Linked DNA regions of Homo sapiens: all the other regions are linked to region 2. The links are contacts of gene promoters, found by promoter capture Hi-C in blood cells and fetal thymus (Javierre and others, 2016). All regions are on one chromosome and are shown on one strand. Each heading gives the region's core, a stretch centred on a gene start or on the middle of the fragment in contact. The rest is flanking DNA. Distances are from core to core; before and after follow the strand shown. Region 1 has its middle 64 kb from the start of UQCRFS1-DT. Region 2 holds the start of POP4 (POP4 ribonuclease P/MRP subunit). Region 3 has its middle 56 kb from the start of CCNE1. Region 4 has its middle 16 kb from the start of URI1.

The links. The method cuts DNA at HindIII sites, captures the fragments that hold promoters and counts their contacts. A CHiCAGO score of 5 or more calls a contact.
Region 1: a contact is called between a fragment that was not itself captured here and the fragment with the promoter of POP4 in region 2, in 2 of 17 cell types (total CD8 T cells and naive CD8 T cells). The highest score is 7.7, in total CD8 T cells.
Region 3: a fragment that was not itself captured here is called in contact with the fragment with the promoter of POP4 in region 2 in 9 of 17 cell types (naive CD4 T cells, naive CD8 T cells, non-activated CD4 T cells and 6 more); the score reaches 15.7 in naive CD4 T cells.
Region 4: a contact is called between a fragment that was not itself captured here and the fragment with the promoter of POP4 in region 2, in 5 of 17 cell types (non-activated CD4 T cells, naive CD4 T cells, naive B cells and 2 more). The highest score is 6.3, in non-activated CD4 T cells.

What each region holds. Positions count from the first base shown.
Region 1 is chr19:29,274,399-29,279,381 of GRCh38, reverse strand. No RefSeq gene overlaps it. Among named protein-coding and RNA genes, the nearest start is that of UQCRFS1-DT, 64 kb to the right of the region's middle. RefSeq lists an enhancer at 1,907-1,956. The HindIII fragment of the contact is 3,970 bases long and covers 1,250-4,983 here.
Region 2 is chr19:29,604,515-29,609,036 of GRCh38, reverse strand. It overlaps POP4 (POP4 ribonuclease P/MRP subunit), which reads right to left and starts at 2,754. Exons shown (of 7, transcript NM_006627.3): 1 at 2,712-2,754; 2 at 328-380. The coding sequence starts at 2,718. RefSeq lists an enhancer at 2,612-3,101. The HindIII fragment of the contact is 1,017 bases long and covers 2,312-3,328 here.
Region 3 is chr19:29,865,064-29,870,234 of GRCh38, reverse strand. No RefSeq gene overlaps it. Among named protein-coding and RNA genes, the nearest start is that of CCNE1, 56 kb to the right of the region's middle. The HindIII fragment of the contact is 9,260 bases long and covers 1-5,171 here.
Region 4 is chr19:29,923,799-29,928,736 of GRCh38, reverse strand. It overlaps a transcript of URI1 not described here. Among named protein-coding and RNA genes, the nearest start is that of URI1, 16 kb to the left of the region's middle. RefSeq lists enhancers at 1-419, 420-921. The HindIII fragment of the contact is 4,520 bases long and covers 454-4,938 here.

The DNA.
Region 1 (4,983 bases), core at 1,985-4,484, 330 kb after region 2:
AATCTACAAAAGTTTTAAAAGGGTCGGGCACGGTGGCTCACACCTATAATCCTAGCACTTTGGGAGGCTGAAGTGGGCAGATCACCTGAGGTCAGGAGTTTGAGACCAGCCTGGCCAATATAGCGCAACCCTGTCTCTACTAAAAATATAAAAATTAGCTGGGCATGGTGGCCTGCACCTGTAATCCCAGCTACTTGAGTTGCTCAGGCACGAGAATCGCTTGAACCTGTGAGGCAGAAGTTGGAGTGAGCACTCCAGCCTGGGGAACAAAGTAAGACTCTCTTAAAAAAGAATTTAAAAAGAAATAAAAAAATAGTTATGAATGTAATCAACCTCAAGGCATTGACACACTTAGAAGCCTGCTGGGTCTGGCCAGTGAGAAATCAGTGAAGAAATAGCTTGAGGCAGACCAGAGTGTGCAGGTCCTGCTCCAAGACAGCTCTTGTCAGCCCGCTGCTGGTGGTGCTTGGGGAATGCCAGGGCTGAGGTGCTACTGAGCACATTGCAGCTTTCCCAGGGCAGGTGGCAGTCTGAATCTTATGTAGAACCTCTTGAGTTTTATGCAGATATGCTTATCAGCTATTCGTTGTTCCTTGAGCAAACCTTGCTGTGAACGTGGTTCTAATCTGGGTCTCTAAAATGTGTAAACTATGCATACAAGGACTTTCTCTAAAACATGGTTTGCAGTAGTGCAAATTGGAACAGAATCACCTGTTCTTCAACAAAGGACTGGTGTGTAAGCGCCAGAACACGGAGCTGGAGAGATGACAACATGTACCAAGGGAAAAAGTTAAGTTGAAGAACAATGTTTGCTGTGATCTCAGGTTTTGTAAGAGCAACGACAAAGCGTGTTTGTACTCCTAGATTTTTAATCGTATATATGATTATAAATGTATAATCTCCAAATTAGGTATAATATATGCAGTTCTATAAATTTGTTAAAGGTATTTCGTGTGTTTGTTTCCTTTTCTTAGGGTCTTAAGGTAAGACCCTAATATGCTTTAACCCTTCAGGGAACACCCTTCCTTTTTTCTCTGTTTTAGTTCCATCCTCCGTAATTTAGGGAAAATAGATTTTTTTCTGAAACTGTCCATGATAAATAAAACATAGTCTATCAATTGTTGTCTTTCCTTTCCCCTCCTTCCCTTTGGTTCATGTATGTGTGTATTTTGAGTTGTTTCTTGTCACAGATTTTTCTTTTTTTAGAGCAAGGATATGTGGGTAGTAAACTTTTTATGTCCGAAAAGCTTAATTGGCCATAGAGTTCCAAGTTGGCTTTTCATTTTATTTTGGCCTCTGAAGATATTATTGCGCCGCTTATGGTTGGGAAGTCTGTTCTCCACCCAGTCAATGGGCACCCCTTGGTGGTTGGTCGTTTCCCTTCCGATGGCCTTTCCTGTGTTTCTCCCTGTCCGTGGCGCCCTGCGGTTGACTGTGAGGTGTAGGGGATAGGTTTATTCTTGTTCATGCTGCTTGTTTCTTTAGGAGGCACTTTCACATCGAATTCTGTCTATTTTTGCCTTTTGTTACTCTTCTTGAATGTATCTTGGAAACTTTCTCTTCATACACATGCACAAACACACACACATCATATACTCAAGATATAATTCATGCAAAGTTTAGAAACATTCAGGCATTTGATGGAGAATGAGAGAAGTGCTGTAGGGGAAGGGGGCACATAAGGCAAAGAGACAAAATACCTTTAGAAAATTTATAGAAATGCATAGATATCATATCTAACTTAGAGATTATGCATATGTAATCATATGTATGATTTTTGTAGGGGAAGGGGGTTTCAACTGTATTTAGGGTATGCTATTTCCTTTAGAGATTCTCCGAAGGAAGGAAGAAAGGAAGGAAGGAAGGAAAGAAGGAAGGAAAGAATACTAACCATGCCTTTTTATTTTCTGTATTTCTGATGTTTTGAGATGCTGGGGACTTCACCCTGGAGGGACTGCCCCTCCCAGGGACAGGCAGTTCCTAGAGAAAATAAGCAACTCCCCTGCGAGTTCCCCTTTGGTCGACAAACCAATCAATCCAGAGCCCACACCCCGACCACTTCCTTTCCTGGGCTCTCGTAGGTTCTTTCACTTTTAGCCACCAATCACGCCAGGCCTTGCCCTAATCACCCCGGGGCCAGGTATCAGACAACTAGTGACAGCCTCTGCATGCTGGGGCTGCTGAAATTGGACAAACTAGTGGATCCTAAGCCTACATGTTTGCCTCGTCTGTTTCTTCCCATGGAAATCACATAAAGGCTCTTGTCCACCCTTTCCCCTCCCTCCCTCTTCCCCCTGTGGCCCCCTCATGGCATGGTGTCTCCTCCTCTTGGGAACTGTGCGTAACAAGCTCTCTCTTTAATAGCAAGTGTCTCCTGCTCTGCTCAATCCATCATACCTCAATAGAAAGAAAACCTACATTTCAAAATAAAAGGAAAGCAAAATAAAATATAAAATAAAATAAAAGGAAAGAGAGGTGGGTGGATCATTTGAGGTCAGGAATTTGAGACCAGTGTGGCCAACATGGTGAAACCCCGTCTCTACTAAAAATACAAAAATTAGCCGGGCATGGTGACTCATGCCTGTAATCTCAGCTACTCAGGAGGCTGAGGCAGGAGAATCGCTTGAGGCCAGGAGGCAGAGGTTGCAGTGAGCCAAGATCATGCCACTGCACTCCAGCCTGGGTGAGACTCTGTCAAAAAAAAAAAAAAAAGGAAAGAAAAAGGAGAAAGGATGGAAGGAGAGAGGAAGAGAGCAAAGAAGGAAAGGAGGGAGGAAAGGAGAGAGGAAGAGAAACAAACAGAGGGCATGATTAGAGCAGGCCATCCAGCGAGGAGGCTGCTGGAGTTGTTCCAGTGAGGGATGGTGGTGACTGGACCAGCGAGACGGCAGTGGAAGGGACAAATGTGTGCACGGGAGGCAGGTGAATGAAAATCCACAGGCCTTGCTGCTGCAGTAAATATAGGGGGTGATGGAGGAAGAGGATGGAAGGTGGCTCCTGGGCATCTGGCATGACATGCTGGGCAGCTGATGATATTTATTAAGATAGAAGAGATGGGCTGGGACTAGGTTTGGGGCCCTGGCTTGGCAATCCTAGCCAAATAATTTAACTTCACTGTGCCTCTGTGAAGATATCTCCCAAGGAGTTGAGACTAAATGAGGTCATACAATAAGTGGAAGAGCTTCAGGCCTACTGTGAGAGCTCAGTGAAAGCTGGCAATGATGGAGACAGCTGGAGCCTGGCGCCAAAGAGGATGGGGTGGAGTGGGTGGCTGAGAGCCAGTGGGGGGTGGGTTGCTGAGCAGCAGTGGTGGTCCTCCTAGGGTCTTAGCAAAGGAGAAGCATGACCAGATATCCATTTTACAAATGTCATTGTGGCTGCCATGTGCAGAGTAGGCAGAAGGAGAACAAGAGGATGTGGGGAGACCAGCTAGGAGGTCTTTTCATGCTGGACCAAAAGTGGCAGCGGAGGAAGGGAGGGGGGCTAGATGTGCAGCAGGTATGAGCGATAGTTCATGATTGCAGCATGCAATACATATTACAATTCTCAAGTTTCTTTAAATCAACTTAAACTGGACACTGAGAACCCCAGTTCCACCATCTTGCTGATGGGAAAGGCGATCTCAGATAGCAATTTAGTCCTCCTTGTCCTCATTTACTCTGCTGAGTTACACAAATGTCCTTGGATGTCACGTGGCACCAAGGTTCCAGAGTTCATGGTGGCTCCCTCTAAGATGCACTGTGTTGTCCCAGCCTGAGAGGTCCCTTTATGCCTGAAGACCTGGGGCTCGGTAACACTATTTAGGACAAAGAAATAGGCAGGTCAGGGAAACCCATGGTCCTGTCTTCCTCCCAAATCACCTCCATATAGCAGGATCTTGGAGGAGGTGCAAAGCAGGCTGTGCTGGGGAAAGACAGCAGGATGTACACAGGCCTCTTACGGGAGCTTGATGGGACACAGCACAGGTGGGGGTCAGGGCGCCGCTGGCTTGTGCTCCAGGAAGGGTGACTCACTCTCTCCTTCCACCTTACCTACTCTACCTTTTTATAGAGGATTTTGCAAATGGAGGTAGGAGACACAGTCTTAACTCATCTAATCTTGGCTGTCAGCTGCTCAGAGGCGCTGCGCACCAGCCCTGGGAGTACCATTTGCCCAAGGGAACTGCATCCTAGCAGGAGTAGAGGCCTCCTGGGACCAGTAGCTTTATCTCACACGTGACAGACAGCATTAATGAAAGCTAGCATTTATTGTGCATGTAATTACGAGCCAGTTTTGGTGCTAAGCATATTGCATATGCACCTTATTGAACCTTCACAACCACCCTGGGAGATATATGCTAGTATTATCATCCTTGAGATAAAACAAGGAAGTGGAGACACAGAGGGATTCAGTGACTTGTTCCAGCTCCGACTGCAGAGACTGTGTTTCCAACCACTCCCTTTCCAGTTTCCTACAGAGCTCCTGGGAGGCAGTACCCAGACAGCCCGGGATTGGCAGGGTCCTCTAGGGAGCAGGGAAAGTGTGCAGGTCTCTCTGCCTGTGCTTTTCTTTCCACTTTCACTCCTGGGGCTGAGTAAGATGCCCTGTGGTGGTTACAGCAGTGCCCTTCCACCTCCTGTCCCTCCACTGCTCCCCAGTTATAGAAAAGCCTGCAAATGAAGGCTCTGCTCTGGAGAATGGTCTTCCAGCTCACATTCCGGCTGAAGAAGGTGACAAGGGTTTAATTTTGCTTGCTAATTTTGCTAAACAAATAGACAAACCAACAAACAAAAGCCCTGCCAATGCCGGCATCCAACCCAGTGAGGCATTACATTTTAGTAATTTAGTAAGCAGCGGCTCCCTGGCTGTATCTCTGCCATTCTGAGGTCTTTATTTAGTGCTCAGGTCATATGAATGGGCTGTATAGAGGGGACTGGATGGGCAAAGCCAATGCCTGTGGCTATGTATTGTAGTTTGGCTGCTGCAGGGTCCAAGGATACAGCG
Region 2 (4,522 bases), core at 1,505-4,004:
CAGAAGTGCAGAGGGCACAGTGACAAGGTTGAATGATGCTGCCCACCACGTGGGCACAGCCTGGTGTCCCCAACACAGTGGGAAATGATAAAAGGTTAAGGAAAGCCTCATTTTACCAAACTTGACTTTGGCACAACAGAAAAGGAGGCTGGCACGTGGGAACAGGTAATGAGAACTACAGACTTTGATCCAGCCTTAGATGTCTGCCAGAAAAATGAGGAGTATGATGTGGGAAAGGACATCTCAATCAGTGCTGGGGGCTCAGAAGCTACTGAGCCATCTTTGCCATCACCTCTGTTGCTCCTGGACTCCCTGCCAAGAACTGACCTGGACATCGGAGTCATTCGCCTCTTTCTGAGACAATGCATGGTAGATCACACCTGGGGGATTAAAAAAAAGAAATGATCAATTCTTGTTGGGTATGGCTGTAAGACCCAAGACTTTTCTAACTATGAAAATAACTACGCCACTAGGCGCAGTGGCTCATACCTGTAGTCCTAGCACTTTGGGAGGCCAAGGCGGGCGGATCCTGACCCAAGGTCAGGAGTTCAAGACCGGCCTGGCCAACATGGTGAAACCCCGTCTCTACTAAAAATACAAAAATTAGCCGGGGATGGTGGCTTGCACTTGTATTCCCAGCTACATGGGAGATTGAGGCAGGAGAATCGCTGGAACCTGGGAGGCAGAGGCTGCAATGCGCCAAGATCGTGCCATTGCACTCCAGCCTGGGTGACAGAGTGAGACTCTGTCTCAAAAAAAAAAAAAAAAAAAAAAGAAAAGAAAAGAAAAGAAAATAACTACACTTCTACACTTATAGCAGAACAACTGCTTATTCAGAGATAGGAGAAGATGAGGTTGGTATTAAGAGCAAAGCTTTCTTGGATGCCTCTTATCCCACCCTCTGGCCACATCTATGCTAGAAGTTCCAAGCACATGGTTTAAAAAGAATGCTTCTCAAAATTTAACGTGTGTAAAAATCTCTGGGATCTTATTAAAATGCAGATTATTGGTCTCCTACCCTAGATCCTGAGTGTTTAACATATTCCCAGATACTACTGCAGGTCAGTGAATCACATTTTGAGTTGCATTGGTTTAAAATACCCCAAGTTAGAAGCTTGAGCACTTGCTAACAAGGTAACTCATTAAAAGTTATATGATATAGCTGTCTAGGATGTAGATGGTTAGAAATAGGTTTTGTTAACTGTAAGATGTTTAAAAAGATTCTTCACATTTTAATATGAAATTATAATGTGTCACATAATCGATGGTGTCCTGAACTGATAAAATACAAGTTTTTCCTTTAAACTCAAAATATACATTGGTCAATAAAGTTTCAACCTCTAAAATAAATTCCACACTTCTGTTTCTTAATTTTTTGAAAGAAGAAAACCATGGCACTGGGGACAGAGTACAGGTGTGAATGGAATAAGAATGGGACTACTAAGGCCTGGTTTATGAGCTAAATAGCTAGAAAATGTAATTTACACTATACTCTGTAAATTTAATTCCAGCTTTCTTGTACTTCCCTGAGAATGTTTGATGCAAGGTGGTTACAAGTTTTTTTTTTTTGTTGTTTGTTTGTTTGTTTTGATACTGGGTTTTGCTCTGTTGCCCTGGCTGGAGTGCAGTGGCACAATCATAGCTCACTGCAACTTCGACCTCCTGGTTTCAAGTGATCCTCCCACCTCAGTCTCCTGAGTAGCTGAGACTACAGGTGTGTGCCACCACACCTGGCTAATTCTTTTTTTTTTTTTCCAGTTTTTGTAGAGACAGGGTCTCGCTATGTTGTTGCCCAAGTTGGTCTTCAACTCTTGGCCTCAAGTGATCCCCCTGCCTCAGCCTCCCAAAGTGCTGGGACCACAGGCGTGTCCCACCACACCCAGCCAGGTATGTTTGTTTGATCAAGCAAACCAATGTGGTTGCAAGTTTTATATATAGCATCTAGTTCTCCCTCAAATGGAAGATGGGGATTATAAACTGTAGAGAGCAACTTGCGGGGCCTGATAACTTTGCTTCATCTGTTACAGGTGCTTAGTAACAGACTTGGAAGTCTTTCTGCAACAATACACATCTAACAATTACTGAACATCCATTACTTGCCAGAAACCTCATTACAAGGTACACATATTTTTTCTCATTACACTTATGTGCATGAGCAAACTGAAGCTCAGACATGCCGAGACAATCTACTTGATCATATAGGTAGAAAGTGGCAGAGATGAAAAATAAAAATTCTGATTGAAGGCCCAGTCTTAACGGTGTCTACACGCCCCTCCTTGGCACATGTCTTCTACCCCTAAGGACCAAAGCTTTGGGTTAGTGATATCATTCCCCAGCAGCTCTCGGCGCTTTGCATCAGGTTAAGAGTGTGAAACCAGCTCGCAGAAAGGAGCAGGATCTTGACCGCGGTCACCCCGGGAGATAGTGGCCAAGTTGAGCCAAGGCCTGGAACCCTCCTCTAGCATCGCACACCACTGAGCAGCCTCCGGGAGAACCTGCCTCCAGCCCTGACATCCCTCCCTAGCTCAGAGGTCGAGCCAGGCTAACCCGTGCTCCAGCCCTCAGTTTTTCTTAGGTAGGGTGGGCCCATTCCTGTAGCGGTTCTGTTAGGACTCCGCAGCAACAGGTAGCCCGGACCCATTTCACCCACCAGTACCAAGACCCCGACCCTTAACGTCCCCAACCCTCTCCAACTTCGCGGCCCCGCTTACTCTTCATTCTCGGACCGCTTCCGGCGCTCTCTGATGACGCACTGGCAGCTGCTGTCGCAGACTCTCGGAGCTCGGAGATGGCGCTATGCGTGACATCACCGGCGCTCGCCCACCTCGGGGGCGCATGCGCCTGGAAAGGGATTCGGCTACTGAGAACGTCGTAGGCGGTGTTGCTGAGCAGTGGGGAGGAGTGGGCTCGCTTCCTGGGGTCTTTTCCGCCTGCATCTTTTGGGGGACAGGCAGTAGGGTTGGGGTAAAGGCATGTGGAATGCTTGCTAAGGCCTGGAGTGGAGCGAGGCGAGGCGACTTGGAGAGGACTCGAAGGAGGTTGGGGATCTGGGAGGGCGGAAATGGGACGGGGACGGTGGGGTGAGGTCTTTGTCGTCCCTAATCAGCGCCCTTACGGATGAGCCGAGGCAGCTTCCGCTGTGAGCACGGGCACCGAAGCTGGGACAGCAGGCTTAGGTTCTAGTTCCGTGTCTGCTGCTAACTAGCTGTTTAACCTCGCTTAGGGCACTTCCCATCTGTAAGCCTCACTTGCAGTCTGTGCTGTGAGTGGGGTCGGCCTCACAGGTAGTGATGCGCCGCCTGGGTCCCTTTGATAGTTTCAGAAAGCTTTCTTGAGACTCAGAATATTTATTAGTTTTTATCAATAAAAAAATCATAGCAATAAGATCAAAGGTGGCTCACACCGTGGGAGGCGCAGGCGGGAGGATCTCTTGAGCCCAGGAGTTCGAGACCAGCCTGGGCAACATCGGGAGACCCCATCTCTACAAAACATTTAAAAAAAATTATCCAGGCGTGGTGGTGCGTGCTTGTAGTCCCAACTACTCGGGTATCTGAGGTGGGAGGATCAGTTGAGCCCAAGGAGTTTAGGGCTGCAGTGAACCTGGATTGCGCTACTGCACTCCAGCCTGGGTGACAGAGTGAGACCCTGTCTCCAAAATAAATAAATAAATTCCATATAAATAAATAAATGAATAAACAAACTCCATTGCTCAGTGGAAAGGTGCAGGAAGGCCTGGTGCAGACTTCTCAGCAGTGACCCAGTGTTGGGCAGAACTGTGGAGCCCCAATTTCTGCTGAGCACTGGGCCTGTGCTGGGTGGGAGAGAAAAGAAATACGGTCCCTTTATGCTAAGTCAGTGGTTCTCAACTTTGAGTACAGTATACATTTCTTTACAGGGGATTCTGGGAGTATGTCCAAAGGTTTTAGTTTGAGAAACATTGGCTTAAACAATTTCTTTGGTGGTGACCTTGTACCATTTTGATTTTAAACATTAGACTGCAGGCACTGAAATTGGTTCATCCCAGTGACCCCGCGTGCATTGACTTTATAAAATTTATGTATTAGTTTTTGCATATGTAGTACACTTATGCATTTATTTTATACGTATAAAATTTGGAAAGACCACATTTAAACCAAAACATGCTGCCTTTGCAGATGCCTGAAAATTGTAATTTATGGGACTGATAGAGAACTTTTATTATTTTTAAAATTAACCAATAAGAATTGTATGTATTTATGGTATACAATATGGTTTGAAATGTGTATACATTGTGTAATGGCTAAATGAGCTATGAGCGATGCTAATACACTCATTTTGTGATGAGAACACTTCAGACCTACTCTCAGTGAAATTCAGGTTATTAACTGAAATTCACTGTTATTAACTATAGTCACCATGTTGTACAATAGAGCCCTTCACAAATGTGAACTTTAAAATCAAATGAGACAGCAGAAGATGTTAGCCAGTTTCAGAGCTGTGTACTCAAGGGGGGCCCTTTTAGGCAAGACCTCTGTGATTATGG
Region 3 (5,171 bases), core at 1,822-4,321, 260 kb before region 2:
TCCTCAATGATTCTTGAGGGGAGCAGGCAGGGGCAGTGGGAGGGCCGGGGGGTGGGGGTGGGGGTTGGATTTTTTTTTTTTTCCCCCGAGACGGAGTCTCCCTCTGTCGCCCAGGCTGGAGTGCAATAATAGTGCGATCTCGGCTCACTGCAAGCTCCACCTCCCGGGTTCATGCCAGTTTCCTGCCTCAGCCTCCCGAGTAGCTGGGGCTATAGGCACCCGCCACCATGTCCGGCTAATTTTTTGTGTGTTTTTAGTAGAGACGGGGTTTCACCGCGTTAGGGATTTTTTTTTTAATTGTTGCTTTCTGTTTTCACTAGGATATGATCAGAGAAGATAACAGGTAGAATTTTTTTTTTTTTTTTTTGGTCTTGATTCCCTGAGATCCTCCCGCCTTGGCCACCAAAGTGCTGGCATTACAGGTGTGAGCCACTGCGCCCGGCCTCCTACAGAGGCCTTTCTACAGAAATCTACTACTTTCTGAAAGAGATACAAGTCATCATCATTATCCAAAAATAATTGTATTAGAGGAAAAAGAAAAAACACTTTAGCGTGAATCCACTTGGGGGAGGGCAAAATTTCATGCATAATGTTATACCGAGACATGAAACCAAGTAGTACAAAAAAGACATTTACTTTATCTAATATTTACTGAAATTTAGGTTATAATTGCAACAATGTCATTTTTAAGACAAATATAAATCCAGTGTACTTTCCCATAGGTATGTTATACTTGAATAAAAAGTTTGCTTAGAAATAATAAATCTAATGTTGACTTTTTGAAAGTATAATTTTTCTAATAAAATTGTGTGATATCATGACAAGACACCCTTCACTTCACATCTGACTTCTGCAATACTACTGTGTTTTGCAAAAGGTAATTGATGGCTTCAGCTATCGTCCTAAGGGCCTCTCTTAATCCTTTGCTATTTGTATCAGTCAGGGTTGCATTTGACAGAAACCCAATTTAGCAACTTTAACAAGCTAGGAGCTTATTTTTCTTATATGACAAAAAAAATCCAAAGGCAAACAGATGGGCTGGTGCCATTGCACACGAAAAACATCACAGATGTGGCCCTTCTGGCCCCCGCTTCACCCTCCTGAAGGTTTCCTATTTGCTTTCTCAAGGTAGCAGCTGCACCTCTAGGAATCTCATCCACATTCCAGTTCAAAGGGGGCATGACTCAAGGCAAAAAGGTTTGAGCCACCTTAGTCTGCCCCTTATTTATCGGGAAAGCAATAACTTTCACAGAAGCCCCACAAGTAGAATTTTTCATGTTACGTTGGCCGAAACACCATCACACGACTACCCCTAGCTGCAGAAGAGTCTGGGAGGAGAGGATTTTTAGCTGAGTACATTACCACCCTAGGCAAAACTGGGTTCATGTCAGTGAAAACAGAATGAATATTGGGTAACAGTTGACAACTTCTGTCACAATAATCAAACCATTTATTTTTATTTATGTACTGAGACAAGCTCTCACTATGTTGCCCACGCTGGTCTTGAACTCGTGGCCTCAAGCAATCCTCCCACCTTGGCCTTTCAAAGTGTTGGGATTACAGGTATGAGCCACCAGCACCTCACCCAATATTGCTCTTTCATAAAATCCTTTTTTTTTTTTTTTTCAAAATGTGTAGTTTCACTTTGTAATTGACTTGAATTATATTGTACTATGGGGTATTTCTACGATTATTGAGAGGCTGACCATCAAAAATGCTGATGCATTTGTCCAGGATAAATGCTAACAGTGAACTGGGAGGAATGGTTGAGTGAATAATAATTTTATAAAAGCTCAATTCATTAGTAACTGGATTCAAGTCACGACTTAACTAAGAATCATAATCATAGCTGTGAAAATTTGGGCAAATTACTCAACCTTCCTGTGCTTCTATTTCCTCATTTGCAAAATGGGAATGGTTTCTCAGTTGTCTAGTTCTGCAAAAGAAACCAGTTCAAAAATTTTAAACAAAAACCATTTTGTTTTCTCACAATTCTGTGTGTGGCAGTTTGGTGTGGGCTCAGCTGGATGGCTCTTCTGCTGATCTTGTCCTTGGTTACTAATGCAGCTATAGTTATCCAGCAACTCAGCTGGGACCAGATGTTCTAAGATGCCTCACCCACATGTCTGATGATGGGTGTTTGGCTACAGGTCTTCAGCAGCCCAGCCCAGGCTTCTTCACACGATGGTGGAAGTGTTCCAAGAGACCAAGAGTGGAAGCTGTGCAGTGTCTTGAGGGCTAACTCACAAGTAAAAAAAAAGTAATTTCCACAACATCCCATTGTCAAAGCAAGTTGCAAAGCCAGACCAGATTCATGGATATAAAAATAGATTCTCTTTGGGAGGCTGAGGGGGCTGGATTGCCTGAGTTCAGGAGTTTGAGACCAGCTTGGGTAACATGGCGAAACCCTGTCTCTTACAAAAATATGAAAAATTAGGTAGGCTTGGTGGTTCGCACCTGTAGTCCCCACTACTGAGAGGCTGAGGTGGGAGGACCACTTGAGCCTGGGAGGAGGAAGTTGCAGTGAGCCGAGACTGAGCCACTGCACTTCAACCTGGGTGACAGAATGAGACCCCATCTCAAAAAAAGAAATAAAAATAGGCCGGGTACAGTGGCTCACGCCACAGCACTTAGGGAGGCTGAGGTGGATGGATCACCTGAGATCAGGAGTTGGAGACCAGCCTGGCCAACTCGGCAAAAACCCATCTCTACTAAAAATACAAAAAAAATTAGCCGGGCATGGTGGTGTGGTGTGCACCTGTAGTCACAGCTACTTGGGAGGCTAAGGCAGGAGAATCACTCCAACCTGGGAGGCAGAGGTTGCAGTGAGCTGAGATCACATCACTGCACTCCAGCCTGGGCAATAGAGTGAGACACCATCTCAAAAAAAAAAAAAAATACATTCTGCCTCTTAAAAGAGGAATTGATAAAGTCACATTGCAAAAGTTTGTATATACAAGGATGGAAGAAATTATTATAGTCATCTTGGCTAACAGATAGTAATAAATCATGACATATAATTTGTGGTAAGGACCAAAAGGGTTAGTACATGTAAAGTACTTAGAACCTTGGCTGGCGCATCATAGGAGCTTAACGTTTGTTATTTCTTATTATCATTATTGTTGCTGCTGTAATTGTACCAGGAATACTTTTGTTTTTCAAAGCAGTCTTATAATTACAGGGACTTGAATAATAGATACTCAGATAATTAGTCCTTTGTATTAAAATACCTTCTATTATAATTATATTTTTACCATGTTCTCTGTGTATTCCTGGGAGTTTTGCTTTATGTGTTTGGCTACCACATTATTTGGTACATACATGTTTCTGAAGACTTTAGTTTCTCTGTGAATTGCACTTCCATGTTTCATAATCTCCTTCTCTGCTCAGGACCTCGCCCCTTGGATTCCATGTTGATTCATCTTCATACTGCCACTATGCTTCTTTTTTTGTCTGCATTTTTCCATTAACTCCTTGCTCAACAATTAATTTTCAACTTTTCATTGTGTCTTTATTTTAAATGTGCCTCATATAAACAGCATCTACTTGAATTTTCTTTTTTTCCAATTTGATAGGAAAATTCATAATTTATAATGATAGATGATATATAATGGGTTTAACCTCTTCCATCTTATTGTGTGTTTACTGATTTTATTACATTTTTCTGGTTTATGCTTACTAAATTATTGTTATTTTCCCTTTCCCATTTACTTTTCTTTGATGGTTGGCTCAGGTTTTTCATCATTCTTTACCCGTATTAATTCAGAAATTCCACAATACTTTTCATTTCCTTTAATGGGTACCTCTCCACTGTTAACATAGAAATTTGTGTTTCTTTACAGATTGTATTATTTATCTATGGCAGGGTAACAAATTACCCCAAAACTTAGCAGTTTACAACAAGAGATGTTTGTTATCTGACAGTTTCTACGGGTCAGGTCCAGGAGCAGCTCTGCTAAATGGTCCCAGCTCAAGGTTTCTCAGGAGGCTGTAACCGGGTGTCGGCCAAGGCTGCAGCCCTCTGAGGCTGGGCTGAGGCTGCAGGATCCTCTTTGAAGCTCATTCATGTGGCTGTTGGCAGGAGACTTCTGTTCCTTGTCCCAAGGGCATCTATGGGGCTGTTCACAACACAGCTTCCCTCACATCAAGTGATGAGAGACAGAGGAACTCCTCGTACCGTTTATGCTTTAACCTCAGTCACATCCTGTCACTCTCTTAGATTCTCTTGGTTAGAAGTGGGTCACTAGGTCTGTCCCACACTACCAGGGAGGGAAATTAAGGTCCATGATCCACATCTTGAAGGGACGATCATCAAAGGGTTTGTGGACTTATTTTTTTTTTTTTTTTGAGATGGAGTCTGGATATATTGCCCAGGCTGGAGTGTAATGGCGAGATCTCGGCTCATTGCAATCTCCACCTCCAGGGTTCAAGCGATTCTCCTGTCTCAGCCTCCCAAGTAGCTGGGATTAAAGGCACCTGCCACTAGGCCAATTTTTGTATTTTTAGTAGAGATGGGATTTCACCATGTCAGCCAGGCTGGTCTCAAACTCCTGACCTCAAGTGATCCGCCTGCCTCAGCTTCCCAAAGTGCTGGGATTACAGATGTGAGCCACCGTGCCTGGCCCAGTGTATCTGTTTTTGGCTGTAGTATTTATTTAGCATTTTCCCCAGAGAGGATATAAGTCTTTGCATACTTTAAAATCTCTTCCAGCTTTGGCAACACAGTGAGACCCGTCTTTACAAAAAAAAAAAAAAAATTAAAATAATGAGTGGGGCACAGTGGCACATACCTGTGTTCCCAGCTACTTGGGAGGCTAAGGTGGGAGGATTGCTCAAGCCCAGCCAGTCTAGGCTGCAGTGAGCCGTGATCACACCAGGCACTCCAGCCTGAGTGACAGAGTGAGACCCTGTCTCAAAACAAATAAAAATAAAAAGAAAAATCTCTTGCCATTGCCCTGATGTATGCATGATATCTCTTGTGGACATAGGATTCCTGGGTCACTGTCCTTGTCCCTGAAGTCACTGTTCCATTCGTCTCCTGACTTCCAGGGTGGCAGATGACAAAGCCAACATCAACGTGATTTTTCTTTCCTTTGTAAGTAACCTTACTTTCTGTCTGGAAGTTCATAATTCAGGAATTACACCAGGGTCTGTTTTAAGTATATGTCTTT
Region 4 (4,938 bases), core at 1,464-3,963, 320 kb before region 2:
GAGCACCCTTCTACCGAAAAGAAAATTCATGGTTTATCTGAAATTCAAATTTAATACAGCCTCTTGTATTTTATCTGGCAATCCTATTCCCACTACTGCCCTTGAGAGCCTCCCCGCTTCCCCTCCACATCCATTCTCCTATGTTGCTTTGAAAATAAACAAGCATCAGGGACTGACACACTGATTTCAAAGTCCCTGCCACTTAAATGGATCCCTTTCATCTACCAGGAACTGAAGATGGAAACAAGTGGGCGGAGACAAAAGAGAGCTGAGTGAAGGGAGGTGGTGGAAAGGAAAGGGGCGTTTCGTGACATCGGCCCAGACTGCTGTCTCCACTGAGGCTCAGGGGCCTCAGGGTTGGCCTCCTGCACTCCTTCTCAGCCTTGGATGCATGTTGGGAGCTCCGAAAAATAATGCTTGGGCGTGACCTGGGCGGTGGGAAGTTTTTAAGCTTCTCTAGTGATTCCTCGAAACAGCCTAGGCTGCTGTTTTCTTGCTGCTAGCAAACCAGCCAAACTCAGTGGCAAAAATCACCGCTCCCAGCCAGGCAGCCGGGCAGCTCTCATTCAGAGGCTCATGCAGCTGCGGTCATCTTGAAAACTTCTGCTTGCACATATCTGGACTTGAGATTAACTGTCACCTGGGATCTCAGTAGGGCAGTCAACCAGATCACCTGTATGTGGCCTTGCCTTATAGCCTGGGCTTCTTTGCAGCACGCCTGTTGAGTTCCAAGGGAGCCAGACAGAAGTGGCATGGCCTTTTCTAATCTAGCCTGGAGTGTCGTGTAGTATCCCTTCAGCCACATTCTACTCATCAGAAGCAAGTCACTAAGGCCAGCTCACATTCAAGAGGGATGGAATTAGGCCGGGCACCGTAGGTCACGCCTAATCCCAGCATTTTGGGAGGCCGAGGTGGGCAGATCACTTGAGGTCAGGAGTTTGAGACCAGCCTGACCAACATAACAAAACCCCATCTCTACTAAAAATACAAAAATTAGCTGGGCATGATGGCAGGCGTCTGTAATCCCAGCTACTGGGGAGGCTGAGGCATGAGAATTGGTTGAACCCAGGAGGTGGAGGTTGCAGTGAGCTGAGATCACGCCATTGCACTCCAGCACTCTAGCCTGGGCGACAGAGTGAGACTCTGTCTCAAAAAAAAAAAAAAAAAAAAAAAAAAGCCGGGTGCAGTGGCTCATGCTTGTAATCCCAGTACTTTGGGAGGCCGAGACAGGTGGATCACCTGAGGTCAGGAGTTCAAAACCAGCCTGGCCAATATGGTGAAACCCCGTGTCTACTAAAATAAAAGATTAGCCGGGTGTGGTGGCATGTGCCTGTAATCCCAGCTACTCAGGAGGCTGAGGGAGAAGAATCACTTGAACCTGGGAGGCAGAGGTTGCAGTGAGCCGAGATTGCACCACTGCACTCCAGCCTGAGCAAGACAGCAAGACTCCATTTCAGAAAAAAAAAAAAAAAAAAGAGGGATGAAATTAGACTTCATCTCTTGATGGGACAAATGCCAAGGAATTTGTGATCCTATGTGAAGACCACCACAGCTACCACTGGAATAAAGTCTCCAGAATCCATTCTCCTGTCTACACTCCCCCAGCCCAAGACACCATCACTGCTCACCTGGGAAGTCCAGTAGCCTCTGCAGGGTCTCCCTGCCTCCCATCTCCCACCCCAGGCTGTCCTCCACACTGCAGCTGGAGTCTCGAGCCCAGAGAGTGGAGTCCACGGCCCCCACAAGCTGGTCTTTGTGTCTCCAATTCATTCGCATCCTCAAGCTCCCAGGCAGAGCCAGACTCAGTACAAGCAGGTGCTCTCCCGAGCCATGCATGAGCCTAGCTCCTGCCAGACAGGCACGTCATCCCTTGGTAGGGAGCCACAAAACTTCCCAACCCCCATCCCTTGCTCCTCCTTCAGGACCTGACCCAGACCCCTCTCCAGGGAAGCCTTCTCTGAGCATCCCCAAGGTGGGTCAAGCTCAACACCCTGGCCTTTCCTTTGCAATGTATAGGTCGTTTCACACATTTTCTTTTAACCTTGTACTGCAGTTTAACACATATGCAGAAAAGTGCACAAATCCTTAGCGAATTTTCACAAAGTGAGCAATCCTGTATATCCAGCTCTCAGGTCAAGAAACAGAACATTTCTAAGGCTGGGTGAGGTGGCTCATGCCTGCAATCCCAGCACTTTGGAAGACTGATGCAGAAAGATCACTTGAGGGAAGGAGTTCAAGTCTAGTCTGGGCAACATAGTGAGACCTCTTCTCTATAAAAAATTTTTTAAAATTAGCCAGGCATGTTGGCACATTCCTGTAGTCCTGGCTACTCAGGAGGCTGGGGCAGGAAGATCACTTGAGCCCAGGAGGTTGAGGCTGCAAAAAGCTATAATTGTACCACTGCACTCCAGCCTGGGCAACAGAATAAGATTCTGTTGAAGGAAAGAAGGTAGGAAGGAAGGAAGGAAGGAAGGAAGGAAGGAAGGAAGGAAGGAAGGAAGGAGAGAGGAAGAAAGAGAGAAGATTTTTATTCGGGTAATGGGTGCACCAAAATATCAGAAATCACTGCTAAAGAACTTATTCATGTAACCAACACCACCTGTTCCTTAAAAACCTATTGAAATAAAAACAGAAAGAAAGAGAGAAAGAGGAAGGAAGGAAGGAAGGAAAGAAGGAAGATTGATTCCTAGAACCCCAGGAGCCCTCCAAGGTCCTTTTGTTCACCATCCACCATCCCTTCCTCCCCCCAGTCCTGGTAACCACTATTCCAACTTCCAATCCTTTGGACTAGTGCCATCTGTTTTTAAACTTCATACCAATGGACTCATACGGTATGTGCTCTGGGGTCTGGTTTCTGTGTCCAGTTTCATGTTAGTTCTTGTAGCATTTTAATCAGAGCCGGTCACATAATTTGTAGTGCCCAGTGCAAAATGAAAGTGTGGACCATCCCCTCCAACCCCACCCCCAACACCATTCAAAAGTTATTAAGAATTTCAAGATGGCAGCTGCAGAGCCTAAGTCAGTCACGGGATTCTTCTGAGTGCACAGCCCTGTGTAAGTCACACACGCCCACGAAGCCATCCTGTTTCCAGTTGCCTGTTTGGTCGAGTGTCTCTTCCTTGAGGGCAAGAGCTGTGCTGGGGGAAAGTCACCATCTCTGTGGAGTTTCTTCAGCCTTCATTCATTAAAACCTCACAGAGGCCCTGAGGCCAAGAAGGAGGGTGATCATTATAAGCATCACACCTGTTTAATTGATGCAATGTCTAGACTGAAAATGCCGCGGGACTCAGCCAAGGTCCCCCAGTGAGTGAGTGCAGGGGCGGACCTCACACACAAGCCCTCTGGCTCTAGGCAGCCTCCCCCTGCCTCCAGCTCTGCCCTAGAATCTACTGCATGCCAAGTACCGGACCCAGGACAAAGGGAAAAAAGAGTTCCTGCCCAAAAGGAACTCTCAATTCAACTGGAAAACAAAAACAGGACTTACACACATGAAGACATTATTAACCAAAACATTTTGTCCTTCATGTGCGGGCCTTGTAGCTGCAAGAATTGGAGGCTGTCTCTGCCTAACCAAGCAAGAAGGATCAACAAGAGAGGGTGCAGCAAGGTGTGGTGGCTCACGCCTGTAATCCCAGCACTTTGGGAGGCCAAGGCAGGGGGATCACCTAAGGTCAGTAGTTCGAGACCAGCCTGGCCAACATGGTGAAACCCCGTCTCTACCAAAAATACAAAAATTAGCCGGGCGTGGTGGTGCATGCCTGTGATCCCAGCTACCTGGGAGGCTGAGGCAGGAGAACCACTTGAATCCAGGAGGCGGAGGTTGCAGTGAACCGAGATCACACTGTTGCACTCCAGCTTGGGCAACAAAGGGAGACTTCATCTAAAAAAAATTAAAAATTAAACAAAATAATAAGAGGGGGTTCAGAGAGCCTGGACAGGAAGCTGAGGGCAGGCAGAGCTCCTGGGAGCCCTAGGGAGCAGTGGAGCCCCACCCCGGCTCTCACAGGGGCATGGTCTGGTCAGTGTGCTGCTGTTGCATCTGTGCAACACACACTCCAGCCATCCCATCAGTCCCGGTATCACTTGCTCACAGGACAGCCTCTGATTGGCTGAGCTCTGGCCTGGGGCTCAACCCCTGGCTCTCCTAGAGCTGGGAGACAGACGGAGGGCCTGGCCCCTCTGTTCTCACAGTGGGAGGGAGGGAATTCCTCAGAAAGAAATCAAGGGGTCATGAGGACCAGGGATGAAAGCGAGGTGGCTAAAAAATGACAGAAACCCCCTATAATGCACGTGTTTGTTTAGATCGCCAGTACACCGAGCAACAATGGGGGGCTCCTGTCCTTGAAACTGACTTTGCCTGTGCTTGTGGAGGAGGCTGGTAAAACCATTGTAAAAGGTGAGTCCGCAAGCACCCAGGTGTTTGTGAAAGTGTGGTGTGATGGTTACTTTTAGCTGTCAGCTTGACTGGGTTAAGGGATACCCAGATAGCAGGTGCAACATTATTTCTGGGTGCATCTGGGAGGGTGTTTTCAAAGAGATTGGTACTCGAATCAGTAGACCGAGTAAAAAACATCTGCCCTCACCAATGTAGGTGGGCAACATTCAATCCACTGAGGGCCCAAATAGAACAAAAAGACAGAGGAAAAGCAAATTCACTCTCTTCTGGACCTGGGACATCCACCTTCTCCTGCCCTGGGACGTTGAAGCTCCTGGTTCTCAGAACTTCAGGCTCAAACTGAATGATACCATCAGCTTCCGTGGCTCTTCAACCTGCAGATGACATACTGTGGGACTTCTTAGGCTCCTAATCACTCAGGCCAATCTCCATTATAAAGCCCCTCTTCCAGGTCTATAGCTATGTCTACAGCGCCATCTGTATCTTGTTCATTCTGTTTCTCTGACTAATCCATGTGGTTAAAGTAAAATCCTCAAACCTCA